Linked DNA regions of Homo sapiens: all the other regions are linked to region 6. Evidence: promoter capture Hi-C in 16 types of primary human blood cells and fetal thymus (Javierre and others, 2016). All regions are on one chromosome and are shown on one strand. The core of a region is centred on a gene start or on the middle of the fragment in contact, and the rest is flanking DNA. Distances in the headings are between cores, read along the strand shown. Region 1 overlaps JPX (JPX transcript, XIST activator). Region 2 overlaps XIST (X inactive specific transcript). Region 3 has its middle 48 kb from the start of RLIM. Region 4 has its middle 9.3 kb from the start of XIST. Region 5 overlaps RLIM (ring finger protein, LIM domain interacting). Region 6 holds the start of FTX (FTX transcript, XIST regulator). Region 7 has its middle 36 kb from the start of JPX.

Region 1 (3,932 bases), core at 1,326-3,825, 310 kb before region 6:
AAGATTTAGTCTTTTTGGTGCTATTTTGTATGGAATTGATTTCTTAATTTCATTTTTGGATCATTCATTGCTAGTATGAAAACAGAACAATTTATTATATAGGTTTTTTGTTTTTTTTTTTTTTTTTAGATGGAGTTTTTGCTCTTGTTGCCCAGGCTGGAGTGCAGTGGTGGATATTGGCTCACTGCAACCTCTGTCTTCTGGGTTCAAGCAATTCTCCTGCCTTCTGAGTAGCTAAGTATTACAGGCGCCCACCACCACGCCTGGCTAATTTTTTTGTATTTTTAGTAGAGATGGGATTTCATCACGTTGGCCAGGCTGGTCTTGAACTGCTGACCTCAGGTGATCCACCCACCTCAGCCTTCCAAAGTGCTGGGATTACAGGTGTGAGCCACCGCACCCAGCCTATAGGTTTGTATTCTACAGCCAACTCTTCTCAGAGGAAGTATAGATAGATATGTATACTAACCCATGTATAGCTACATATTTATACACATTTTTATATGTAACTATCGATTTTTTTAAGTTAAATGTGAGTTCATACTGGTATTTCTAACTAATCCATTACCACATGGTTAATTCTAGTCATATCTCCTTGTTTGTCTGTCCTCACTCTCTCACTCCAATAGGAAAGAGCCTGTCTCCTAACATTTACCATTCATTTACATAATTGTACTATCCCATTATACAGGTATAACTGTTTCAGAATTGTTGATTTTTACCCTTACTGGAAACAACTCTATCAACTGGAGTATAATGCTTATGTATAGCTTCTTTTGCATTTAGTCTTACAGACTCCACTTATTAATGGTGAGAGACTGGACATACTGCTCAGATCGGGAACAATGCAAAGATGTCCTCTCTCACCACTCCTAATACAAGAAAAGGAAATATAGACTGGAAGGGAAAAAATAAATCTTTATTTGTAGATTATAAGATTGTCTACATAGACGTTTTTAGAGCATCTCCAGAAACCTAGAACTAACAAATGGGAGTAAGAAGGACACAAGGTATTACAGTTACTTTTCATTTTCTGTTAGTTTTGGCATCTCATATTTAAGTCTGGTTTTCAAGATTGCATTCTTTTCAGATGGTATTTTTTTCTTTGTTTTTGTATACATTATAATGTTGAGAGTCAAACATATAAAGTAGTAGATACTGAGGTATATATATGTATTTTCTTTGCGATAAGCACACCTTTCCTTCATCTAGGCTATTAGCGTGGAGGTTTTTGTGAAATTAGTCAGGAGTTGGTCTGGGATTGAAGTTTTGTTGTTACCATGGTTACTCTCTGTGTATCAGAAACTTCAAACCCTATAATGATACCTTGTTTTTGTGTCCTTGTTTGGCGTGGGTTTTCACCTTTTCACTCTTCTCTAGAGAAGGCCTGTGGTTTTCAGCTTTCCCCTGTGCATTACTTTAATTTTATTTGATGTTTAGTCTGTGGTTGGGGCGAAAAAGAGGCATGTTCTCTAATGTTCTAATTTAAACTCAGTCTTAAGTAGGCACTGTGAATCTGGGTCTTGTGGGTGTGGCTGTCATAAGTCTTTCTTTTCCAGTCAATGCCTAGTATTTATTCCCATTCCTCCCCTATGGCTAAAGCTTTATGTGTTCCTTACCTCCTTACCCAGCCCCTGTTGCTTCCACTCCAGGGTGTCCCTGCAAATTGCTCTAAGGTTTTTGCTTCTTAGGCGAGATAGGAGACGGGCCTCTGGGGAATTTTGGTCTGCTTTATATTCCCTTCCACTGCTTCATGATCTTTTCTGTAAATGAAGAACTTTTTTTGGTGGGGCGTGGTGGTTCACGCCTGTAATCCCATCACTTTGGGAGGCCGAGGCGGGCGGATCACCTGAGGTCAGGAGTTTGAGACCAGCCTGACCAACATGGAGAAACCCTGTCTCTACTTAAAATACAAAATTAGCTGGGTGTGGTGGTGCATGCCTGTAATCCCAGCTACTCAGAAGGCTGAGGCAGGAGAGTCACTTGAACCCGGGAGGTGGAGGTTGCGGTGAGCCGAGATCGCGCCATTGCACTCCAGCCTGGGCAACAAGAGCGAAACTTTTTTTTTTTTTAAGAAAGGTAGATTGGGGCAGATTTTCAGCCATAGCTGCTACTCCTTTCCCCCAGATAGTACCAAAGGGGTCTTTCTCTGTGATCTCTGATCTTTCCTGTGGCTTCCTATTGATAACAGCTGCAGGTGGCTGCAACCCCACCCCCATATTTGAAACCTGAGGGGATTCCTATTCTCAGGCCAGCCCACACTTGGCCTTTAGCAATTTATTGTAATTTCTAGTTAAATCTTTCTACCTGCTTTTATATTGATTTTCATGGCATTTGTCCCAGTAATCAAATGCTCAGATTCTGTTTTCCCCTGCAGGCACCTACCATTTTTTTAGATTTCTGTATTTTTTTTTTTCCTGTAACTTCAGTTCTCTGATAGGGTCAAGAAAATCATAACTTTGCTTTTGTCAAGCCTTTTCTAAGTGAGGTAGTGATGTTGTTTCTAGTGCCCTATATATTTGAGATTTGTTGTCTTTGTTATTTTTGTTTATTTCTGTTTCTTATTTTTTCTTCTGTATCATTTGAACATTTTTTAGTATTTTATTTTATTTATTTATTTTTTTTTGAGATGGAGTTTCGCTCTTGTCGCCCAGGCTGGAATGCAGTGGTGTGATCCCAGCTCACTGCAACCTCCGCCTCCCGGGTTCAAGCGATTCTCCTGCCTCAGACTCCCAAGTAGCTGGGGTTACAGGTGCCCGCCACTATGCCTGGCTCATTATTTTTATGTTCAGTAGAGACGGGGTTTCACCATGTTGGTCAGGCTTGTTTTGAACTCCTGACCTCAGGTGATCCACCTGCCTTGGCCTCCCAAAGTGCTGGGATTACAGGCGTGAGCCACCGCGCCCAGGCTTTAATATTCCATTTTAATTATCTTTATTTATTTATTTATTTTGAGACAGAGTCTCGCTCTGTTGCTCAGGCTGGAGTGCAAATGGCACAATCTCAGCTCACTGCAACCCCCGCCTCCTGGGTTCAAGCACTTCTTCTGCCTCAGGCTCATGAGTAGCTGAGACTAACTACAGGTGCATGCCATCACGCCCAGCTAATTTTTGTATTTTCAGTAGAGGCAGGGTTTTGCTATGTTGGCCAGGGTAGTCTCGAACTCCTGACCTCAGGTAATCTGCCTGCCTCGGCCTCCCAAAGTGCTGGGATTATAGGCATGAGCCACCGTGCCCGGTCTTAATTATCTTTTATACATTCGAATTGTCTCATAAATACATATCTAACAGTTTATGTAGATTCAGTGTTTTACCACTTCAGGTAAAACATAGAAGCCTTACATCCATATAAAGCTCTTTATACTCCCTCACTGATTCTTTAAGTAGTTGCCATGTGTTTTACATTTGCATTGTGTTTCTGCTTTCAGGAGTCATACATATTTTAAAGAACTTAAGAGGAGAAAAATAGTCTTTTATATTTACTCAGTAATTTACCACTTCTTTTTTTTTTTTTTAAACCAGTTCTTTGTTCTCTCATTTTTAAAGATCTAAGCTTTCCCTGGGTATCATTTCCCTTCAGACTAAAGAACTCCCTTTATCATTTAATCAGCACTCTGCTTGAGGTGAATTGTCTTAATTTCCCTTCATCTAGGAATGTGTTCATTTCACCTTCATTCCTGAAAGACATTTTCAATCACTGGATATAGAATTGTTAATTGATGGGATTTTTTTCTTGTTGCTCTTTAAAGTTATTTTTCTACTACTGTCCTTCATCGTTTCTGATAAAAAATTTGCCGTCGTTTGAATCATTGCTTCCTCAGATGTAATGTGCTGTTTTTTTAATAGCTGCTTTCAAATTTTTTCCTTTGTCTTTGATTTTCAACAGTTTATAGTATTTCTGGGTGTGTCTTTTCAGTTTATATTGTTTGGTTT
Region 2 (3,896 bases), core at 1,229-3,728, 450 kb before region 6:
ATCCCATCACTGTTCAATGCCAATCACACTAACAGCATACTATAAAATATACTATGCCACTAGTTTTCAAAGCTATGGGTAAAGTAACATAGATAATTTTATAATGGGACCTGGTAAAGTACAGTGATGTTCCAGTCATATCCCTATTTTTAAATTCTTATACGCACTTGATTATGTAATAAGAGGGTATTGCTTGGGTCTACTGCATAACCTCTCATGTTTCCGGGAACACTAGAAGACTAGCATTCTAATTGGTTAAGGAAAATAATACTTTAAGTCTACCCATAATTTAAGAAGTCTAGCACCGGTCAAATTTACATTTTGTTTCAGTTTCTCATCCTAACATGAAAAAAAATAATCAAAAGTTATTTCTAATATAAACATCAAAACAGTAAAGGAGAGGCTTCTTTACCAAACTCATTTGTATAAGATGCAGAAGAAGCCCAAGCTCCATGTATCAGTACTCAATTTGGAAAGGTCAAGGAAGAGCTATCAAGTAAAGCCTAAGTCACCAACAAAAACATGACCAACTCGACAGCCTAATACACATATATATAGTGATATATAACTGTACATGGCCACTGAAGTTTAACTTGTTAAATTCAGCAGGCCAGCTATGTCTTAAATACATGAGCTCCAACTTGAGTTGGATTTTTGAAGGAAACCTGTGTAAAATGCTACTTGCCTACAGCCCAAAATATGGTAGTGAGAATATCAATTTTCTCCCAATCCAGTCTTTAAGACAAGGCAGAGGAAGGCATTAGCTCTGTTTAACTGACACATCATTACTCTTTGCCATCCAAACTGATAAGGTTTGGGGGAAGAGAAGAGGCATTAGCTCAGTTCAGATATAATCATTAGTTTCTTTCTCTTTAAGCTGGTAACGTATTTTTCCAGGATGCTTTCACATATAAGAATATTTTAGCAGTCAACAAAGGTCAACTCTTAATTCATTACTTTAAGACATGAACTCCCTTCAAGCTGTACATTTGATAATCAGGGCACAAACACCCTGAAAAGAAATTATGAATGCCTAATCACAGCAGCCCTGGGTCTCACAGTCTTCTGTAATTTAGGGAGGTGGCTAGAGAAATGGAAGTTACAGAAAGATAAAGCTGAAAGAGGATATGAGAAAATGGTCAGAAAACTTCCTCCAATCCTACATGTTAAGGTTTTATAAAGGGAAAAGTCAGAAAAGAAATGACAATAATCATTTAAAGAAATGCCAAAAAAGTTTCCTTCATTAGACTTTTGAAAATTTTCCAAATCACAAAATGTCATTTTCAGGGATTTAGGTATTTGATATAAGCCCCTATCTTATTTCACTAGCAGTCTCGAGATGGTCAGATTGATGGTGATCTGAACCAAACTCAGAGCCAGGACTAAAGTCTAAGCATTTCTGCCCAAAACCATAATGATTTCCTTCTGCATCCTCCATAAGAAAGCAAATTCCTTGATATAAATCCTGTCTTTGGTTTTGCTATTTATTCCAGCACCTGGTACAATAATATTTGTTGAACTAACACAAGAATTATCTCTATTTTGAAGATGCCCACATTTCCAGAGCATCCCTTTTTACAATTGCTAGAGATTTTTCTTAAGGGTGGAAATTATTTCAAGCAATGAATTTAAATACAGCTTCAAGATTCACCTTTGGATGCTATCTAGTATAATCAATCCACCTAAAATCAAGCCATCCTTCCTCTTGACTTAAGGTACAGAATCACCTCCAAATTCATTCATTTAAAACAAATTCCAATAATAATTATAATTGTATGTTGACAATGAATGACAATTTAATTACCAATAGAAGATTTCATAAGCATAGACCAGGGTTTCTCAAATTGGGGTGATAACCCTGGGGATTTGTGAATATATTCTAATGGATCCCCAAGTTCTACATAAGTTATATAAAACACATCTTTGACAAAGACAACGTGAAATTGGAAAACATATTTACATTTCAAATATCTTTGTTAAGTCAGTGTTCCTCAAAACACATTTTTTTAGGATCTCAGAAAATTTTGTTCCTTTAGAAGGTGTTTCATCATGAAGCATTACTTGGGTTTGAGAAACAATGGCACAGACCATGTTTCCAAGAAGGTTCAAGACCATGATGTATATAACCCTCAGTCAGCCAGACAATGTTGTTAAGCATATGGAGTGGGGCTGGGAGGCATGGAAACAAGCCCTGAGGAAATATGGATATGAATTAAAACGGGCTATAAGTGAAGCCAGTTCACTTATATGGTTCTTGTTGCTCCTGCTGTGATGCATGAATGTGCACCAGAAAAAAAGTTTCGAATGTTATGTTAAACAATATTTTGTCAGCTGGAAAACATTAAGGAGGCTAAGCTTCTTTTAGCTTTACGAAAGGTGGGAGGAAAGAAGGTATATAAACTACAGCATAAAGTAGGCAAGGAAGGTCAAGGTTTTGACTTCACTTCTCCACTACCCTCTTGGCAAAAAGGTTCCAAACTTAAAAAGTATCTACGATATGCATTATCCATGGTCATCTGTTCTTGGGCAGAAATGTAGTAAAATTGTGGAAGGAGCCGAAGTATTAGATTTATGCCCTCAATCTCTGAACTTTAAAATACTCAAGCTTATGAGATTTAGCAATCACTAATTTGCCAACCTTCGCAAATAGCCAAACACAATGGCTATGCTCTATCCCTTTCATCTCTTTCCATGGCTCCAAAAGAGGTAAAAAACAAATGAAATTAAAATAAACCAACTGGACTATCCAGATGGCTGCAATATTAATCCTATCTTGGCTTAAAGAGAAAAAGCAAACCCACTTCCTTAAGTTTATTCTATCAACTTCAAATCCTTGTGGGTTCCCTTCCTAAAACTACTACTTATGATTCACACAAAACAGCACTTATTATTTTCTAAAGTTATTTCAAATGTGCTCACATTAGCTCCTCAACGATAAAATCATCTCAGGAATGAAATTATATAGGATGATATCATTCCTACCCAGGTTATCAGTGTAACCTAGCATAGAGCTGGGTCCACAATATTAATTCTACAGTTCTGCTGGTTAACTCACATATGTGTATTTATGCATGTATGTATGTATCTATTTCTCTCTCTATATATATATATTGCAGATGAGGTGGGAAGAAGGAAAGAAACTTACTGGACCCTCTGACTTTTCTATAGGTGGCATCTAAGAGAAAGAAAATAGAATAGGAAAAAGATTACTTAATAGCTACGAAGTAGTACTTACAGTATTCTAAAGAGCCAGAGACTCTTCTTTACAGCTGTCCGAGGAGCTAGTAGGGCAAACTGCTCCCTGAGCTGGGCCGATCTTTTGACATCCTTCTCCGAGAAACAATATTCTTTTTCAGTTATTACAAAGAACTGCTGTTGTGATGACTAGTTATTTGCTTGAGCAGTTCCATATTACATAATCCTGTGCCACAAAACACCCTGTACACTAGTGGCTGGGATATTATTCATTTCCACTAGGCAGCTATCTCACTGTTGAAATTTATATCCAAAAGAATATTTAATTTTGGCTTATTTTTCTTATAAAATAGGGAACTCGTCTTATCATTTTTAAGTCCTCACCTCAGTGTGGTACTTCAAACTACTTCAAATTATTACTATAATTAAATGCTTCATTTTATATAATAATTAATAAAAAAGGTGGCATATGCTTTTTAAAAGCACCTCTGCATATGTTCCCTCATTTAATCGTTTTACTGCAATCTTCTTGAAATAAGTAGGGGCAGGTGCTCCAGATGAAGAAATTAAAGGATTATAAAATTTAGGTAGTTTTTCTAAAAGTGAATGCTGGTAAAGCCCACACAAAGATACTGGTCTTAAGAGTTCCACTCTAGAATATCTTTGATATTAAAATAGCAAGAGTCAGTGTTCTATCCACA
Region 3 (3,373 bases), core at 401-2,900, 270 kb after region 6:
ATGGCAAACAGGCATATGAGAAGGTGCTCAACATCACTGATCATGAGAGACATGCAAATCAAAGGTACAATGAGGTATCATCTCACCCCAGTTAAAATGACTTTTATCCAAAAGACAGGTAACAACAAATGCTAGAGAGGATGTGGAGAAAAGGGAACTCTCATAAACTGTTGGTGGGACTGTAAATTAATATAATCACTATGGAGAACAGTTTGGATGTTCCTCAAAAAACGTTAAAATCGAGCTACCGTATGATCCAGCAATCCCACTGCTGGGAATTTACCCAAAAGAAAAGAAATCAGTGTATTGAAGAGATATCTACATGCCCATATTTGTTGCAGTACTGTTCACAATAGCTTAGATTTGGAAGCAACCTAAGTGTCCATCAACACATGAATGAATAAAGAAATGTGGTATATATACAGAATGGAGCACTATTCAGCCTTAAAACAATGAAATCTAGTCATTTGCAACAATATGGATGGAACTGGAGATCATTATGTTAAGTTAAATAAGCCAGGCACATAAGACAAACATCTCATGTTCTAACATATTTGTGGGATCCAAAAATCAAAACAATCGAAGTCATGGAGATAGAGAGTAAAAGCGTGGTTATCAGAGACTGGGAAGGGTAGTGGGGATGTTTAATGAGTACAAAAAAAAAAAAAAACCAGAAAGTATGAATAAGACCTAGTATTTGATAGTACAACACAACGGGGTTACTATTGTCAAAATAATTTAATTGTACATTTTACAAGGACTAAAAGAGTATGACTGGATTGTTTGAAACACAAGGATAAATGCTTGAGAGCATGGATACCCCATTTTCCATGATGTGATTATTATGTATTGCATGGCTGTATCAAAATATCTTGTGTACCCCACAAATACATAGATCTAATATATTCCCTCATAAGTTAAAAATAAAATTTAAAAAGTTCCCTGAAAAGGAAGCTTCTCCAAAAGAAAAACCTATGTGGAGCCAGTCATTCAGTCATCAGAAAATTTAATCAAATGTTCAAAGAAGAATTAACGGCAATTTTATATAATCCCTTCCAGAAAACATAAAAGTAGGAAATCACTTCCCAACTGATTTTATGAGGTCAGTATTACCTTGATACTAAAACCAAACAAAGACAGTACAAAAAAAGAAAGGACCATAGACCAATATACCTTATGAATACAGATGTAAAATTCTTCAGAAAATATTAGCAAACCAAATCCAATAATGTATAAAAAGAATTACACACCATGACCAATTGGAATTTATTATAAATATGCAAGGCTGGCTTAATATTTGAAGCTCACTCAATGTAATAAGCCATATCAACAAATTAAGAATCCTATGATCTTTTTTCAATTATATGATCCTACCAATTGGTGCAGAAGAAGCATTTGACCAAATCCAACACCTATTCATGATTTAAAAAAAACAACAACCAAACAACTTGCAGCAAGTTAGGAATGAAGGGGGACTACTTCAACATGATAAAGAGCATCTACAAATACAAATCCACTCTCACCACTCTTATTTACACAGTATTGGAAGTTCTAGCCAAAACAAGAAGGCAAGGAATATAAATAAGTTGTATATAGATTGGAAAGGAGTAAATAAAACTATTTGGCAGTGACATGATGGTCTATATAGAAAATGCCCAGAAATATAACAAAACCTTACAGAACTAATAAGTTCAGCCTCAGTATACAATATCAACACACCAACATACAAAAATCAATCATATTTCTATAAACTATCAATGAATATGCAGAAACTGAAGTTGAAAATGCAACAGCATTTCTAATCACTACAACGAAAATGAAATACTTAGATGCACACTTAACAAAATGTACAGTGGATCTCTGCTGAAAATTTCAAAATACTGATGAAAGAAATCAAGGAAGACATAAATAACTGGAAAGATATTCTGTGTTCATAGACTGGAAGACTCAACAAAGATATCAATTTGGAAAAAACTGACATACGCTATCAAAATACTAGCATTATATTTTTTTGGTAAGCATAAATGAGATTATTCTAAAATTTATATGGAAAGGTAACAATACTAGAATAGTTACATTGATTTTGCAGAAGAATAAAGTGGGAGGAATCAATCCATCTGATTTTTTTTTTCTTTTTAGAGACAAAGTCTTGCCATGTTGCCCAGGTTGGCCTTGAACTCCTGGGCTCAAGGGATCCTCTTGCCTCAGCCTCCCAAATAGCTGGGATCACAGGCATTCAACACTGTGCCCAGCTCCATCTGATTTTAAGAATTATTATTGTTATAGTAATTAAGACTGTGTGGTATTAGTAGAGGAATAGATATATAGAACAATGGAATAGAATAGAGAAGCTTGACATAGTATGGCACACAATTATGACCAACTGATGTTTCACAAATGTGCAAAATCAATTTGATTGAGAAATGATAAACTTTTCAACAAATGGTGCTGGAGTAATTGGCTATCCATAGGCAAAAAGACACAAAAATAAATTCAAAATGGATCATAGACTTAAATGTAAAATGTAAAACTACAACACTTTTAAAAGAAAACAGGAGAAAATCTTCAGGACCTAGAGCTTGGAGCAGAGTTTCTTAGACATGACACCAAAAGCACAATTCACAGTAAAAATAATAAACTGGACTTCACCAAAAGTAAAAACTTTTGTTTTGCAAAGCAATTTGTTTTTTTTTTTTGTTTTTTTTTTTATTTTTTTTATTTTTTTTATTTTTATTTTTATTTTTATTTTTTTTATTGATCATTCTTGGGTGTTTCTCGCAGAGGGGGATTTGGCAGGGTCATAGGACAATAGTGGAGGGAAGGTCAGCAGATAAACAAGTGAACAAAGGTCTCTGGTTTTCCTAGGCAGAGGACCCTGAGGCCTTCCGCAGTGTTTGTGTCCCTGGGTACTTGAGATTAGGGAGTGGTGATGACTCTTAACGAGCGTGCTGCCTTCAAGCATCTGTTTAACAAAGCACATCTTGCACCGCCCTTAATCCATTTAACCCTGAGTGGACACAGCACATGTTTCAGAGAGCACAGGGTTGGGGGTAAGGTCACAGATCAACAGGATCCCAAGGCAGAAGAATTTTTCTTAGTACAGAACAAAATGAAAAGTCTCCCATGTCTACTTCTTTCTACACAGACCCGGCAACCATCCCATTTCTCAATCTTTTCCCCACCTTTCCCCCCTTTCTATTCCACAAAACTGCCACTGTCATCATGGCCCGTTCTCAATGAGCTGTTGGGTACACCTCCCAGACGGGGTGGTGGCCGGGCAGAGGGGCTCCTCACTTCCCAGTAGTGGCGGCCGGGCAGAGGCGCCCCTCACCTCCCGGACGGGGTGGCTGGCCGGGCGAGGGGCTGACCCCCC
Region 4 (3,528 bases), core at 585-3,084, 430 kb before region 6:
GACTGGATGATTTCCAATCATCTATATTTGCATTCAGTTATTTGTTATTCTGCTTGATGTAATCTGCTATTGAAGCATCTTTGGTATTTTTTACTTCAGTCATCATACTGTTCAGCTTGAAAATTTATCTGGTTCTTTTTTCAAGTTTTGAATCTCTGCTTACCTTCTTGTTTTGTTCATATTCTGTCTTCCTGATCTTTTAAAAATATTTGTTTTTTTGTAATTTGCTGAGCTTCTTTAGAACAATTATTTTGAATACTTTGTCAGGCAATTCATGTACCTCCAATTCTTCGTGGTCACACACTGGAAAGCTTCTTGTGTTTTTCTGGCAATATAATGTTTCCCTGATTCTTCCTCATCCTTGTAGTCCTGCAAAGGTGTCTGCACTTTTGAAGCAGCAGTCACCTCTTTCAGACATTATGGCCTGGCTTTGGCAAGGAAAGCCCTTTACCTAAGGAGGAAAAAGGGAGACATACTAGGTGCACTGTGGCACTGGGTCTAGACCATAGGAAACCAAATGCAGGGGCATAGTGTGGCTCTGGGTCTGGTGGTGTGGCGGCAGATAGGGGCCGAGTCTAGTCAGCTCAGGCATGCCTACAACATTGGCAACTGCATGGTCCTTTGTGTCAAGAGCTGTGGGAGTTTCGCAAAGATTATGAGGGCTGTTGGGGTCCTCAGCTATGTATATGTGACAAACAGCTAGGGTCTGGGACTGGCAGCAGTGGAGGCCAGAGCTGAAAGTGTACACATGCTCCACTGTGGAGTCTGGTTGCAGCAGCAGCCTGTTGTAGTCTCACACATGGTAGCAAGAGCTTGGGTCATATGCCGAAGCTGGGCCTGAATGTGAGCATAGATGTGGTGGTAGGTGCTGCAGGTTGCCCATGCCTGATCACAAGGGCCAGATGCATGGTGGCAACAGGGGTCAGGCTGTCTGCATGTGTGTGTTTGTGTGTGTGTGGCAACTGCAGGGCTCAACTGGAGGTGGGTAGGCATGTGCAGCATGGTGATAAATGCAGGACCCATGGGGCAGGACCAGTGGCTTATGCATGCACCACTACAGGAACCAGGGCTGGCAGCATGCAGTAGTCCTGCAGAGATCAGCCTTGAGTGTATGTGGGGTCAATTTCTGAGGTGAGGGGCTTTGGGGCTCTTTGCAGGCACAGGTGCAACAGCTGCACTGGGCCTCTGGGCCAGAGCACCCATGTAAGCAACATCAGGGGTGGCTTTGGAAAGGATGGTTGTCTTAGGCACCTGCGGTATATGAAGGCCACTGCAGTAGTACCCTGGGCTGGGACAACCACAACAGAAGCAGTTCAGGTGGCTTTGGGGAGGAGGGTGGTTGGTTAGGCACCTAAAGACTTCAAGGCTCCTGGGTTGTGTCACCAGGCTGAGGAAACTGCAGCAATAGCAATCCTGCCCTACATGGCTCCTGGGAATGGGGAGGGGAGGTAACGCCAGCACCTAAGACTATGAAGGTGAAGAAAACTGCAAGGCCTTCAGTAGCAAAAGTGGCAGGGGGGTTATTGCTGGTGTGCTGGCATTTGTTTTTCTCAGTAGTAAAAGCTGCTATGTTCCTCTGCAGGACAAGCTGCTGGGCTCCACAATTTCAAACACTGAGGAATCCTCAGCAGTTAAGGCTGTGGGGTCTACACAGCAGCTCCAGGGGCTGTTTGGGTCCTCAGTGGAGAAGTCTGCTGCTTTCCCATGTCAGGTAGGCCACTGGGGGTCACAGTAACTTCCACCTTTTGGCTGATTCTAAAAGAGCTCATCCAGGCCAGGCGCGGTGGCTCACCCCTGTAATCCCAGCACTTTGGGAGGCCGAGGCGGGTGGATCACCTGAGGTCAGGCGTTCGAGACCAGCCTGGCCAACATGGTGAAACCCTGTCTCTACCAAAAATACACAAATTAGCCAGGCATGGTGGTGGGCACCTGTAATCCCAGCTACTCAGGAGGCTGAGGCAGGAGAATCGCTTGAACCTAGGAGGTGGAGGTTGCAGTGAGCCGAGATGACGCCATTGCACTCCAGCCTAGGCGATAGACCAAGACTCCGTCTCAAAAAAAAAAAAAAAAAAAAAAAAAAACCCTCATCCCTTGTCTTTGTTCTCAGCTGTCTCCAGATATCTCAGCTATGCAGGTTACCCCCAGAGATCTGGGTGGGGTGAAACTGAAGCTAGTCATATAGGCAGTGTCCTAAAATACTGGCAAAACTGGTTCTATACCTTGCTCTGCTTTGTCTTGCAAGGCAAACTTAAGCTAGGGAGGTCCCTCTCCATGCTGAGCAGTGTCAGCATGAAGGATGCAGTGATGGAGGTGAAATGAACTTGTTCTTATTACCATTTTTGTGTGGCTCTTCTTGGGTTTTCTCTTCTACTGTATTGTTGTGTCACCTTAAGTGGATCCTAGCCTCTTCCAGAGATATTTTGGTTCATGGATAGTTGCAGAATTGTTCTTCACAGGGAGAGGAAGGCTGAATCTCCTACTCTGACATCATGCTGACCTCACTCCACTAGACAAGGAGTTTAAATTAAATATTTCAAATATGCTCAAAGACATAAAAGAAACAATAGACAAAGAACTAAAAAACACAGAGAGAATAATGTCTCAACAAACAGAAATTATACATTAGAAATAGCACTTATAAAAAGGAACCAAATAGAAATTCTGGAGCTGAAAATACAATAACTGAAACAAAAAAATTCATTCCAGGCATTCAACAGAAAATTTGAGCAGCCAATAGAAAGAAACAACTTGAATAGGTCAATTGAAATTATTCAGTCTAAGGGGCACAAATACAAATAATTAAGAGAAATGAAGAGAATGTGAGGGACCTATGGAACACCATCAAGATGCCAACACACACATTATGGAAGTTTCAGGAGGGGATAGAGTGAACTAGCATTAAAAAAAAGGGAGAAATAATGGTTAAAAAAACTTCCCAAATTTGATAAGACACATTAATCTACACATTAAAAAAACCTCAGTGAGCCAGGCCAACCCCAACAGCCCCAGGCTCCAGACCAGCTCACCACTAGGCCAGCCCCCACAGTCCCAATCTTCAGTTCTACCCCAGCAATCAGCTGTTCCCTGCAACTCTAGTCATTAGGCTGACACCCACAAACCCATCTCCAGGCCAGCCCCTGTGGTGCCAGGTTTCAGGCTTGCTCCAGCACCATGTCAGCAATGCTGGACTTAAACACCAGGCAGGCACCCACAGACACAGGCTCCAGGCCTGCCCAGCACCAGGCCAGTCCCCATGACCTCACACTCTAGCTGGACCCTGTGGCTTCATAGCTTCAGCAGACCCAGGGTCCAGGCCTGTCCCAGTAGACCCCTGTGCTGGATTTGCCACTACAGACACAAGCTTAAAGATTGCCCCAGTGTACTCAGGTCACAGGAACCCTCAAGTCATCCAAACCCAGGCCAGCCCTCACAGTCTTAGCCTCTAGGCCAGCACCTACACACCCAGCCTCCAGGCTGGGACAAGTGGACATGAGCTCTAGGCTGAGCCTGACAGCCCCGTGCTTAAGA
Region 5 (3,791 bases), core at 180-2,679, 290 kb after region 6:
ACAGATACATCACCAGGCCAACTGCGTACCTACTCAACTTGATACCTGATCACATGGCCCTACATCCTTAAAAGCAGCACCAGGGACAAATGGAGCTATCAAGAGGTAAAATCCAAACACTGGACAGTTAAAACACATACAAACCAGTTAAAAGAACATTAGTAATGGGGCACTAAATAGAGTTAAGGCTGGACAGCTGGTTCAACCATACCTTGGTATTGAAATAATTCTGCAAGATGAGGAACTTACAGAGGAACCTTGAAAGAGGCACCATGATATGACAGGGTTCACTTTCACTGCATGTCTTTAAGATATCTACTACTCAGCCCAACTGACCATAAAGCAGCTCGTGGAACTTTAATAAACAAATCCTAATAAAAATAAATAATTTTTAGAATGTTGGAGGGTATGCCTATTTCCTTCAGATCTGATCAAGACATGAGAATTATAAAACCGATACAAACTGTTCTGTGATTATCACTTGACAGTTCTAACACTGTTATACAGCTCAATTCTATGCTGCAGCCTTTAAGATACAAACTGGGGTTACATGAGATCACTCACTTGTTAGAGAAGTATCAGATAAATTTTAGAACTGTTCCAGTTAAGGAAAATAATTCTTAATTTCATAATCCTAAAACTTTTTCTAAAAATTTTTGCAGGGCAGGTACTTAACTCATAGCTGTTTTAGTTGATTAAAAAATCTGATTTAAAAATAAGTAAGGCTGGGCGCAGTGGCTCACGCCTATAATCCCAGCACTTTGGGAGAATGAGGCAGGCAAATTGCCTGAGCCCAGGAGTTCAAGAACAGCCTGGACAACATGGCGAAACCCCATCTCCACAAAAAATTAGCCAGGCAATGTGGTGCATGCCTGTAGTCCCAGCTACTTGGAAGGCTGAGGTGGGAGAATCACCTGAGCCCAGGAAGTCAAGGCTGCAGTGAGCTGTGACCATGCCACTGCACTCCAGCCTGGGTGACAGAGCAAGACCCTGTCTCAAAAAGTAAAAAATAAAATAAAATAAAAATAAATAAGTGACATACTAGTTCCTCGGATCTTTTACTTTTTTCCAAATGAAGTATGCTGTCAATTTACATTTTTCATGTTTTTTCAAAAGCACACAATTTACTAGTTAACTCAATGAATTACAATACTGTTATTGAATATAAACATACTGAAGAATTAAAGGGAAAAAAACACACCTGACACTTTAACATGTGCCTTAACAATCTTGCATACTAAGGTACAGAATACTTCAGAAAGTAACAATTAGCATAGTCTTATAAGACTAGGAGAATAAAAGTGCCCTGCAAACATGGCTTCTATGTACTTAATATGGTAAAACATGTGACAGGGAAGCCTGTAAGGTAAAACTTAAAAAAAAAATCAAATAAGGCAGATTATAATTTTTTTTGTTCGCAAAAGAACAAAGGAGAAAAGGGGAAGAATAAAAACATTCTCCATCTTTAAAAGAAAAAATATTAACAACCATAAGGTGCCACTGTATTTTAGCAAGCTGTAAAAATGGCCTTTTAAGAGGAATTTTGCAATCTTTACCTCCCTATCATTTGGGTATTTTGGGAACTGACCGAAAGTCATGGCTGATGCTTCACCCATTTCATGTCATGGACGCCTGGGAAGCAGGTAGTTAAATACAAAGCATATTATGTGATAACCCTTCATAAATATAATTTGAGACACTGACACTAGGAGAGGATACTTGGCACAGAAAAGACATGTTATGGGGCGGGGGACACATTACTTGAGGCAACACTTACAGCCAATCAGTTTCCTAATCTTAAGGTTTGGATGAATTCCAATCGTTTTTAAAAACTGTGTGTGTACACACACATATTTTATTTCCTGGTGCTAAAGGTCTTATAAACTGTACAATTACCTACATTCCAACACTAATGTGAACACTTTTCTCAATCCCCACCTCCATTAACACCATTAAGGTGTAACTAACATGTTCTTTTCAGAGCAAATATTCCAAATTAACAAGGTGGCTCATCTTCTATAGTGTTGATACAAAGTCAGCAAACTTTTAACTTAACTTGCTCAATTTTGTTTCTAATAGTACTAATAAACCTCAACTTTGGCTGGACATGGTGGCTCACGCCTGTAATCCCAGCATTTTCGGAGGCCGAGGCAGGCACATCACTTGAGGTCAGGAGTTCAAGACCAGCCTGGCCAACACGGTGAAGTCCCCATCTCTACTAAAAATATAAAAACTAGCCAGGTGTGGTGGCATGCGCCTGTAATCCCAGCTACTCGAGAGGCTGAGACAGGAGAATTGCTTGAACCCAGGAGGCAGAGGTTGCAGTGAGCCGAGATCGCTCCATTGCACTTCATCCTGGGCAACCAAGTAAGACTCTGTCTCAAAAAAACAAAACAAAACAAAACAAAACAAAAAAACCTCAACTTTGTCAGCTGCTCAGAGTTAAAACAATTCAAATGTTTCAGACTAGAAGTGAGTTTTTAAAAACATCTGAAATATTCAAGAAAATTTGGGTTTTGGTACTTTTCCTTATGCTCTGAACAATGTGAACTCCCAACATTGTTTATCCTTGTTCCTCTTACTGCATGAAGTTCAAACTAGGTCTTAAAGACAACTTTTCTGTACTTAAGAAAAAGTGCAAAGATAGAAAATGAAATGTAAGGTGTTTTGCAAGAAATGCTCCCTCGAGAATGGTGTTTGGATGTGGGTGGGGGGAAAACGATTTTTGTTCTCCATTGTAATCTGACACCTACGAATGACCTTGTCTTCAATGTCCACAACACTAGTAAGCATGTAATAATCACGGACATCGCAAGATTAAAAATTAAGTAGCAAATTCCACTAAAACACTTGTATTCATTCTATACAATCGAATGGAAATCCGTGAGTGCTACTGAAAAAGGTGTTCACATGCACATGTCCAATATGTGCATTCCACTGAAGGCTAAAAGCTTAAAATTCTATTTCCAGTGTTTATGAATAGCTTCAATATCTACATTCATAGCCAGCATTCTGCTTGAGTTACCTCTTACTTTAATACTTCACAAATGAGTAAGTACGTCTTGGGAGATTAGGAAGGTACCTGTTGTCAATAACTTTCTCTTATGCTTAGAATGTGCTGCAATTGTTTTTAAACTATTTAAAATGAACACCCCTATAATAATGAAACACTTTATGCCAAGAAGAAAATTGATTTGTTTTTAGCCAATCAAGACTACCCTGCAGATCTGAAAACTGTAGATTACATCCTTAGGAAAGGAGAAAAGGAGGCTCACAAATATAAAGGAATCCTGACTTTTACACGGACAAATTTTTAAAAAGATAAAATGTATTACATAAGCGCCATAAACAGTGAAATCTGCTTATATTAAAAAAAATAAGTGAAGCTTTGTTTGGACATTATTTCCTTGCAAGAGCAGTACATATCCTTAGTAAACAACTACCATATTTACAAGTTAATTTCCTTGATACTTAGATAGGATTGAAAGCCAGAAGAAATCATGGAAGAGTGAGCTTTGAAATAATCTTTACAGCTAAGTTGGTAACAGTGAAGGTACCCAGACAATTCCTAAAGCAGACTTGTTTATTTTGTAGAGTATTTGACTACGTCTGGGTAGCTAGCTTGCTTTGATAAAGGCCAAGGACAAGTTCAATCCCTATTTTGGCCTGTTAAAGCTTTTCCCAGAAGAACAAATATCTGCTCCATAGTCATTCTAATCCTAACCCCAGCTAGTCTCAAAAAAGAAATTAGGCAAGAAGACTGGGGTTATCATGAAGTTACTCTTACTACT
Region 6 (3,820 bases), core at 42-2,541:
GCAAGGCCTGCTAGCCCAAGATGGCCAAGCAAAGACAGCTTACCTCCCCCCTCGCCATTTTGCAACCTTAATTACCCGAATGCTGAGCGCCTCCCCTCCCCGGCACTCCGTCTGAAATACGCATGCGCGCCGCTTCCTCCTTACCGTTCTCCCCAACCATCCAGATGTTGTCTCAAATATGCATGAGCGCCACCTCTACCTCCCAAACGCTGGTACCAACTCCTAGCAACTTTGCGTTGTTAAATATGCCTGCGAGTCCTTCACTTCCCGACCTTCCAACCCTCCAACCCCGACGCCATTCAAGCCTTGCGCATGCGTGCCTCCCTCTCCCCACCCCCGCCCCACTGGAGCCCGTCCCCTTAACTCAGGTCTTCTCAAATACTGTAAGCTTGAGCGCCGCCCCTCGGCGCCGCGCCTCCTCATCCAGCCTCTCAAATACCCTGCGCACCGCGATAGTCCTCTCTCTTCTTGCTCCCATTTGTATACAGTATGCATGCCTGATGCTATCTGGACGTGTTTCTCGCCACAATTCTGCCCCAGTGCCCAAGGAGAGCCATTACCAGCCTTCCCTAATGCGAGTAGATGCGATAAACTAGGGAAGTTGAATCGGGGAAAGAAGGCGTTGCAGGTGATCAGAGTGAATCCCAGATCTAGATGGAATCGGTCCCAACTCCAAGGGAGGGGGCTAGAGTACCCCAGGATTCACATAAGACCGGTCAACCTGAACAAAGGCAAGGAAAACTTTCACAAACCATCGGATGAACATAATCCTAAGGCCTCGCCCTTTAAATACATCTGCTACAAATGACGAACCACAAATGTTTTAAACAGGGAACATTATGGAAAACACCGATGCTCAGGTGCCTTGACTCTAGTTAGAGGAAAGGAACCCGCATTCCTTTCACAATGGGAAGCAAATGCTCAACATCCTTTTGGAAAACTGGGGCCTGTAACGTATTCCATTTTTTCCTCCCGTGAACTGGAAAAATGCACAAATTAAGGATCTTCCTGGCCCAAGTTCCCTCCGCCGCCCTCCATGTTCTGTTCTTCCCCTACATCGTTCCTTTACCTCCTGGTTGAATTCAGTGTCGTAGCAGGAATTCTTAGAGCTGGCCGTCCCAAGATGGGGTGGAGAGAGCGGCATGAAAGAGAGAGAGAGAGAGAGACACGCCTGAATGGCAGCAGCAGGCCTTAGCGGCAATGGACAGCAGGCACAGGACCAGCTTTGCCTCGAGCCGCAACGCTGATGCCAGAAAAGGACAACCTCTCCAGAATCGCCGCAGTGTGCTTCCAGCGCATGCGCTGCTAACGCCCCTTAACCCCCCCTCCGCGCCCCGCCTCCCCCACGCGCCGCTCTCCAGCCTCTAGGAGTCTAACCCTTAGCGGTCCACCGACCTCCTTCACTTCTTTCCCAGGACGCTATCCCACTCTGCTTCTTCCACCTTTCCCCTCCCCTCGGTCACACTGGCCTCCACCATCATCCCTCCCTCAGCCCATACTTCTTTCGTCAATCCCTCTCCCATTATTCTTAGCCCACCATCTACCTTTATTTCCTCTGCTATCGTTAGTGGTCTACCCTTCAATTCTTCACTTTCCCTGCCAGTCTGCAGCCCTCTTGGGCCTCTTACTCCTCTCCTCCTATGCCTGATGTTGAAATTTGTAAAAATTACCGCAAAAATTTTTTTTTAAATAATTGTAGCCCGGGCGCGGTGGCTCACACCTGTAATCCCAGCACTTTGGGAGGCCGAGGTGGACGGAACCCTTGAGTTCAGGAGTTCGAGACCAGCTCGGGTGACATGGCGAAACCCCGTCTCTACAAATAAATACAAAAATTAGCCGGGCGTGGTGGTGCGCACCTGTACTCCCAGCTATTCAGAAGGCTGAGGTGGAAGAATCACTCGAGCCCAGGAAGTCGAGGCTACAGTGAGCTATGATTGTGCCAGCTATGATGTTGCCAGCCTGGGCAACAGAGTGAGACCCCATCTCAAAAAAAGAAAAAAAATATTTCCACACATCCTCTCCAAAGCAGCTCTCAGGGTGAGCTCAACCAGCCTGTCTTGGGCAAAGAGAACACCTTTTTGATGATGACCCACAGGGAAGATCCAGAGACAGGGAACCAGAACAAAAACTGCAAAAGTGTTCAATCAATTTGGGGGTAAGAGGCAGTAGACCACCAACATGGAAAGCTCTTTTCTTTCTATTCACAACCCTGGTATTGTCTGGACATTAAAAATGAGATTCAATGTCCTTCACTGCTTACTACAAGGCCTGTTCTTGTCTTCTGTAAGAACTCAAATATTAATTTTGAGGGAAATGGCATTATTTACTTAAGAGGCTCTGAAATAGATCCCTCTTTGGGTGTGAACTAGAAAGAATACAAAATAATATTTTGTTTCTCTTTATTATGTTTTACTTTGGTGTCTGGTTCTTATTGCTTTCTAAAAGAGCCAGTTTGGAAATACCAAAAACTGAGACCCGCAAATTCATAAATCCTAAAACTCATAAACTTATACATCACCATCCTCTCAAATTAACTTAAGAATGTTATATCAACATTATTCAGAGAAAAATGGGTTTGCATTTGTTATATAATACGCCCAAAAAATTATACAACAATGTGCATATGAAGAAGAAAAAAGAGAAATAGGCATGCATTAAATAAAAAAGAAATGCCGAAATCTCAGTGGTACAAAGAACCTCTTCTAAATTAAAATAATCATTTATTATTACACAAAAGTTAAAATATAAGAAATTTTACCCCAAATTCTACAACACTATTTTAACAAATGCTCTTATCTCTGTTATTTTTCTGTTTTAATGGTTTTATTAATATATAATTTACATATCATACAGTTAACCAACTTAAAGTGTACAATGCAATGGATTTTAGTATATTCACAGAATTATGCAGCCACCACTACAATCAATTTTAGAATATTTTCATCACCCCAAAAAGAAACTTCATACCCATTAGTATTGTCTTAGTCCATTATGTACCACTGTAACAAAATACTGCAGACTCGGCAATTTATAAAGAACAGAAATTTATTTCCTCACAGTTCTGGAGAATGGGAAGTCCAAGACTGAGGAGCTGGCATCTGACAGTGGCTTTCCTGCTACATCATCCCATGGTGGAAGGGCAAAGAGATAGAGAAAGAGAGAGTGCGCGCAAGAGGGGGCCAGAACTCATCCTTTAATAAGGAACCCACTACTGAAATAACAAACCCACTCCCTCAATAATAGCATTAAGCTATTCATAAGAGTGGTGCCCCCATGACTCAAACACCTCCCTTTAAGCCTCACCTCCCAACACCACCACATGGGGCATCAAATTTCCAACATATGAACTTTGAGAGACATATTCAAACCATAGCAAGCATCTTTGTGTTCTCTTATGATTTTTGTTCAAATATATAATGTTTTGGCTGGGCGTGGTGGCTCATGCCTGTAATCCCAGCACTTTGGGAGGCCAATGCAGGAAGATTGCCTGAGACCACAAGTTCGAAACCAGCCTTGGCAACATAGCAATACCCTGTCTCTATTTAAAAAAAAAAAAAAAAAGAGGTGGGGGCCAAGCACAGTGGCTCGCACCTGTAATCCCAGTACTTTGGGAAGCCAAGGCAGGCAGATCAGTTAAGGTCAGGAGTTCAAGACCAGCCTGGCCAACATGGTGAAACCCCGTCTCTACTAAACATGCAAAAATTAGCTGGGCGTGGTGGCGGGCACCTGTAATCCCAGCTACTCGGGAGGCTGAGGCAGCTGACTCGCTTGAACCTGGGAGGCAGAGGTTATAGTAAGCCGAGATCATGCCACTGCCCTC
Region 7 (3,820 bases), core at 1,115-3,614, 380 kb before region 6:
GTTAATGTTTCTAATTATTTAGCTCTTTTAAAATTTCTTTCATCAGCATTGTTTAATTTTCAGCATATAGGTCCAGTACATGTTAAGTTTATACGTGAGTGTGATTTCATTTTCCTTGGAATGGTTGTAAATGTTGTGTTTTTAATTTCAGTATTTACATATTCATTGTCAGTATGTAGAAATTCAGTTGATATTTGTATGTTGATTTTGTAGTCTGTGACATTGCTGAACTCATTAATTCTATGAAATTTTTTGGAGATTCTTTGGAATTTTCTACATAGAAAAGCATGTTGGCTGGCAGCAGTGACTCACCCCTCTAATCCTAACTTCCAGCTGCATCCATATTGCTGCAAAGGACATGGTTTTATTCTTTTATATGGCTGCATAGTATTCCATGGTGTATATGTGCATTTTCTTTATCCAATCTACCATTGATGGGCACCTAGGTTGATCCCATGTCTTTGCTATTGTGAATAGTGCTGAGATAAACATATGAGTGCAGGTGTCTTTTTGGTAGATGATTTGTTTCCTTTGGGTATATACTCATTAATGGATTGCTGGCTCGAATGGTAGTCCTATTTTTTTCTACTTGGAGAAATCTCCAAAATACTTTCCACAGTGGCTAAACTAATTTACATCCCCACCAACAGTGTATAAGCACTCCCTTTCTCTACAACCTTTTTACTTTTTAATAATTAATAGCCATTCTGATTTGTGTGAGCTGGTATTTCATTGTCATTTTGATTTGTATCTCTCTGATGATTAGTGATGTTGAACTTTGTTGTTTTTTCTTTTTTAGACCGAGTCTTGCCCTGTCACCAGGCTGGAGTGCAGTGGTGCGATCTTGGCTCACTGCAACCTTTGCCTCCTGGGTTCAAGTGATTCTCCTGCCTCAGTCTCCCGAGTAGCAGAGACTACAGGCATGAGCCACTACACCCTGTTAATTTTTGTATTTTTAGTAGTGATGGGGTTTCACCATGTCGGCCAGGATGGACTGGATCTCTTGACCTCGTGATTCGCCCACCTTGGCCTCCCAAAGTTCTGGGATTACAGGCATGAGCCACCGCGCCTGGCCTGAACTTTTTTTAATATGTTTGCTGGCCACTTGAATGTATTCTTTTGAGAAGGGTCTGTTCATGTTTTTTGCCCACATTTTAATGGGGTTGTCTTTTACTTGTTGATTTAAGTTTCTTATAGATCCTGGATATTAGTCCTTTGCCAGAATCATAGTTTGTAAATATTTTATCCCATTTTTTCTGTTTACTCTGTTGGTAATTTATTTTGCTGTGCAGAAGCTCTTTAGTTTAATTAGGTCCCACTTGTTCAATTTTTGGTTTTATTGCATTTGTTTTTAAGAACCTAGTGATAATTTTTTTTTTTTTTTTGCCTAGACCAATATCAAAGAGAGTATTTCCTAGGTTTTCTTCCAGGATTTTTATAATTTTAGATCTTATATTGAAGTATTTAATCTATCTTGAGCTAATTTTCATACATGCTGATAGATAGGGGTCCAGTTTCAATCTTCTGCATATGGCTACCCAGTTTTTCCAACACCATTTATTGAATAGGGTGTCCTTTCCCCATTGTTTATACATGTTGAGTTTGTCAAAGATCAGTTGGTTGTAGCTATGTGACTTTATTTCCGGGTTCTCTATTATGTTCTATTGGTCCATGTGTCTATTTTCGTACCAGTACCATTTGTTTTTGGTTACTTGTAGTATTGTTTGAAGTTGGGTAGTGTGATCCCTCCAGCTTTATTCTTTTTATTTTATTTATTTATTTTTTTTGTGTGAGACGGAGTCTCACTCTGTCGCCCAGGCTGAAGGGCAGTGGCACGATCTCGGCTCACTGCAAGCTCCGCCTCCCTCCGGCTTTATTCTTTTTCATAGAATTGGCTTGGCTATTCCAGCTCTTTTTTGGTTCCATATGAATTTTAGAATAGGTTTTTCCTGATTCTGTAAAAACGACATTGGCTATTTGATAGGAATAGTGTTGAATCTCTATATTGCCTTGGGCAATATGGACATTTCAATGATACTAATTCCTCCAACCCATGAGCATGGAATACTTTTCCAATTGTCTGTGCTGTCTGTGATTATTTTCAGCAGTGTTTTGTAGTTCTTCTCATGGAGATCTTTCACTGCCTTCGTTAGGTGTATTCCTATGTATTGTTGTATATGTGTGTGTGCCTATTGTAAATGGGATTGCATTCTTGATTTGTTTCTGAGCTTAAACATTATTGGTATATAGAAATGCTATAGATTTTTGTACATTGATTTTGTATCCTGAGACTTTACAGAAGTCATTTATCAGGCCTAGGAGTTTTTGGGGGGAATATTTAGGATTTTCTAGGTATAGAATTATATCATTAGCAAAGAGATAATTTGAATTTGACTTCCTCTTTTTTTATTTAGACACCTTTTATTTCTTTTCTTTTTTTTTTTTTTTGCTGAGACAGAGTCTGGCTGTCTCCCAGGCTAGAGTGCAGTGGCATGATCTCTGCTCACTGCAAGCTCCACCTCCCGGGTTTATGCCATTCTCCTGTCTCAGTCTCCCGAGTAGCTGGGACAACAGGCACCTGCCACCACACCCAGCTAATTTTTTGTATTTTTAGTAGAGGCGGGGTTTCACTGTGTTAGCTAGGATGGTCTCCATCTCCTGACCTCTTGATCCACCCGCCTCGGCCTCCCAAAGTGCTGGGATTACAGGCGTGAGCCACCACGCCTGGCTGACACCTTTTATTTCTTTCTCTTGCCTGATTCCTCTGGCTAGGACTTATAGTACTATGTTGAATAGGTGTGGCAAGAGTGTGCATCCTTGTCTTGTTCCAGTTCTTAGAGGTAATGCTTCCAACTTTTGCCTATTCAGCATGATGTTGGCTGTGGGTTTGTCATAGATGGCTCCTATTATTTTGAGATACGGTCTTTTAATGACTGGTTTGTTGAGGGTTTTTATTATTAAGGAATGTTGAATTTTATCAAATGCTTTTTCTGTGTCTGTTGAAAGGATCATATGGTTTTCGTTTTAAATTTTGTTTATGTGGTGAAGCACATTTGTTAATTTGCATATGCTGAACCATTCTTGCATCCAAGGAATAAAGCCCACTTGATCATGGTGAATTAACTTTTTGATTTGGTTTGGTAGTGTTTTTTGAGGATTTTTGCATCTGTGTTTATTGGGGATATTGGCCTGTAGTTTTCTTCTTTTGTTATGTCTTTGTCAGATTCACGTCTATGCTTTTACATGCAATGTAATCCCTTCCATTTCAATCAAATGTAATCCCTTCCATTTCAATCAAAAGACCAATTCAAGTCTTACTTCCTCCTTTTAGCAGTCTCTGATAACCACATCATACGTGATTGTTCCTTTCTCTCAACTCTTCTAGCATTTTGACTACTAGGATGCTTACAGTGCTGTATCTTTGAGAGCAGAGGCTATAGCTTATTCTTACATGAATATGTCATTGGCTCCAGTCCCAGTGCTTGGCACAGAGCAGACACTCTTTAATAAAGAAATGAATTTTATTCAGCTTTTTTCCCATCTTATTTCTTACCAGAAATACAAATTGTATGAGTTTCAGAAAAATGGTATTTCGGTCAAAGTGACAGGCTCACTAAAAGACAATAATGCATTTCATTGAAAAGCAGGATATATTTTTTATTTAATGACTCTTCCTCTGACATCTACTTGTGACAGAAAATGTTAAAATTTAGTACCCAAACACTACCCTACACACATGCATGCATATACACACATTTATGGGAATTTAGCTGTTACCATGCTAGAGAATGATATTGGGTGGGTTTTTTTTGGGTGGGGG

The links. Contacts are between HindIII fragments. The CHiCAGO score rates a contact against its expected background, and 5 or more counts as called.
Region 1: a contact is called between a fragment that was not itself captured here and the fragment with the promoter of FTX in region 6, in 7 of 17 cell types (naive CD8 T cells, total CD8 T cells, naive CD4 T cells and 4 more). The highest score is 12.6, in naive CD8 T cells.
Region 2: a contact is called between a fragment that was not itself captured here and the fragment with the promoter of FTX in region 6, in 1 of 17 cell types (M2 macrophages). The highest score is 5.8, in M2 macrophages.
Region 3: a fragment that was not itself captured here is called in contact with the fragment with the promoter of FTX in region 6 in 3 of 17 cell types (monocytes, M2 macrophages and M0 macrophages); the score reaches 9.8 in monocytes.
Region 4: a contact is called between a fragment that was not itself captured here and the fragment with the promoter of FTX in region 6, in 2 of 17 cell types (neutrophils and activated CD4 T cells). The highest score is 5.9, in neutrophils.
Region 5: a fragment that was not itself captured here is called in contact with the fragment with the promoter of FTX in region 6 in 1 of 17 cell types (neutrophils); the score reaches 6.0 in neutrophils.
Region 7: a fragment that was not itself captured here is called in contact with the fragment with the promoter of FTX in region 6 in 1 of 17 cell types (neutrophils); the score reaches 5.5 in neutrophils.

What each region holds. Positions count from the first base shown.
Region 1 is chrX:73,976,334-73,980,265 of GRCh38, forward strand. The region is part of intron 2 of JPX (JPX transcript, XIST activator); the gene reads left to right. Among named protein-coding and RNA genes, the nearest start is that of JPX, 34 kb to the left of the region's middle. RefSeq lists an enhancer at 1,257-1,816. The HindIII fragment of the contact is 1,950 bases long and covers 1,601-3,550 here.
Region 2 is chrX:73,838,147-73,842,042 of GRCh38, forward strand. It overlaps XIST (X inactive specific transcript), which reads right to left. Exons shown (of 6, transcript NR_001564.3): 1 at 3,236-3,896. Among named protein-coding and RNA genes, the nearest start is that of XIST, 13 kb to the right of the region's middle. The HindIII fragment of the contact is 250 bases long and covers 2,354-2,603 here.
Region 3 is chrX:74,565,174-74,568,546 of GRCh38, forward strand. No RefSeq gene overlaps it. Among named protein-coding and RNA genes, the nearest start is that of RLIM, 48 kb to the right of the region's middle. RefSeq lists an enhancer at 2,661-3,373. The HindIII fragment of the contact is 1,397 bases long and covers 953-2,349 here.
Region 4 is chrX:73,860,233-73,863,760 of GRCh38, forward strand. No RefSeq gene overlaps it. Among named protein-coding and RNA genes, the nearest start is that of XIST, 9.3 kb to the left of the region's middle. RefSeq lists an enhancer at 3,398-3,528. The HindIII fragment of the contact is 3,050 bases long and covers 310-3,359 here.
Region 5 is chrX:74,586,089-74,589,879 of GRCh38, forward strand. RLIM (ring finger protein, LIM domain interacting) reads right to left here. Exons shown (of 4, transcript NM_016120.4): 4 at 1-3,791. Among named protein-coding and RNA genes, the nearest start is that of RLIM, 27 kb to the right of the region's middle. The HindIII fragment of the contact is 3,039 bases long and covers 1-2,949 here.
Region 6 is chrX:74,292,283-74,296,102 of GRCh38, forward strand. FTX (FTX transcript, XIST regulator) reads right to left here and starts at 1,292. Exons shown (of 7, transcript NR_028379.1): 1 at 1,070-1,292. LOC124905199 (a long non-coding RNA gene) reads right to left here and starts at 314. Exons shown (of 2, transcript XR_007068266.1): 1 at 1-314. RefSeq lists an enhancer at 1-546. The HindIII fragment of the contact is 8,135 bases long and covers 387-3,820 here.
Region 7 is chrX:73,906,876-73,910,695 of GRCh38, forward strand. No RefSeq gene overlaps it. Among named protein-coding and RNA genes, the nearest start is that of JPX, 36 kb to the right of the region's middle. The HindIII fragment of the contact is 9,060 bases long and covers 1-3,820 here.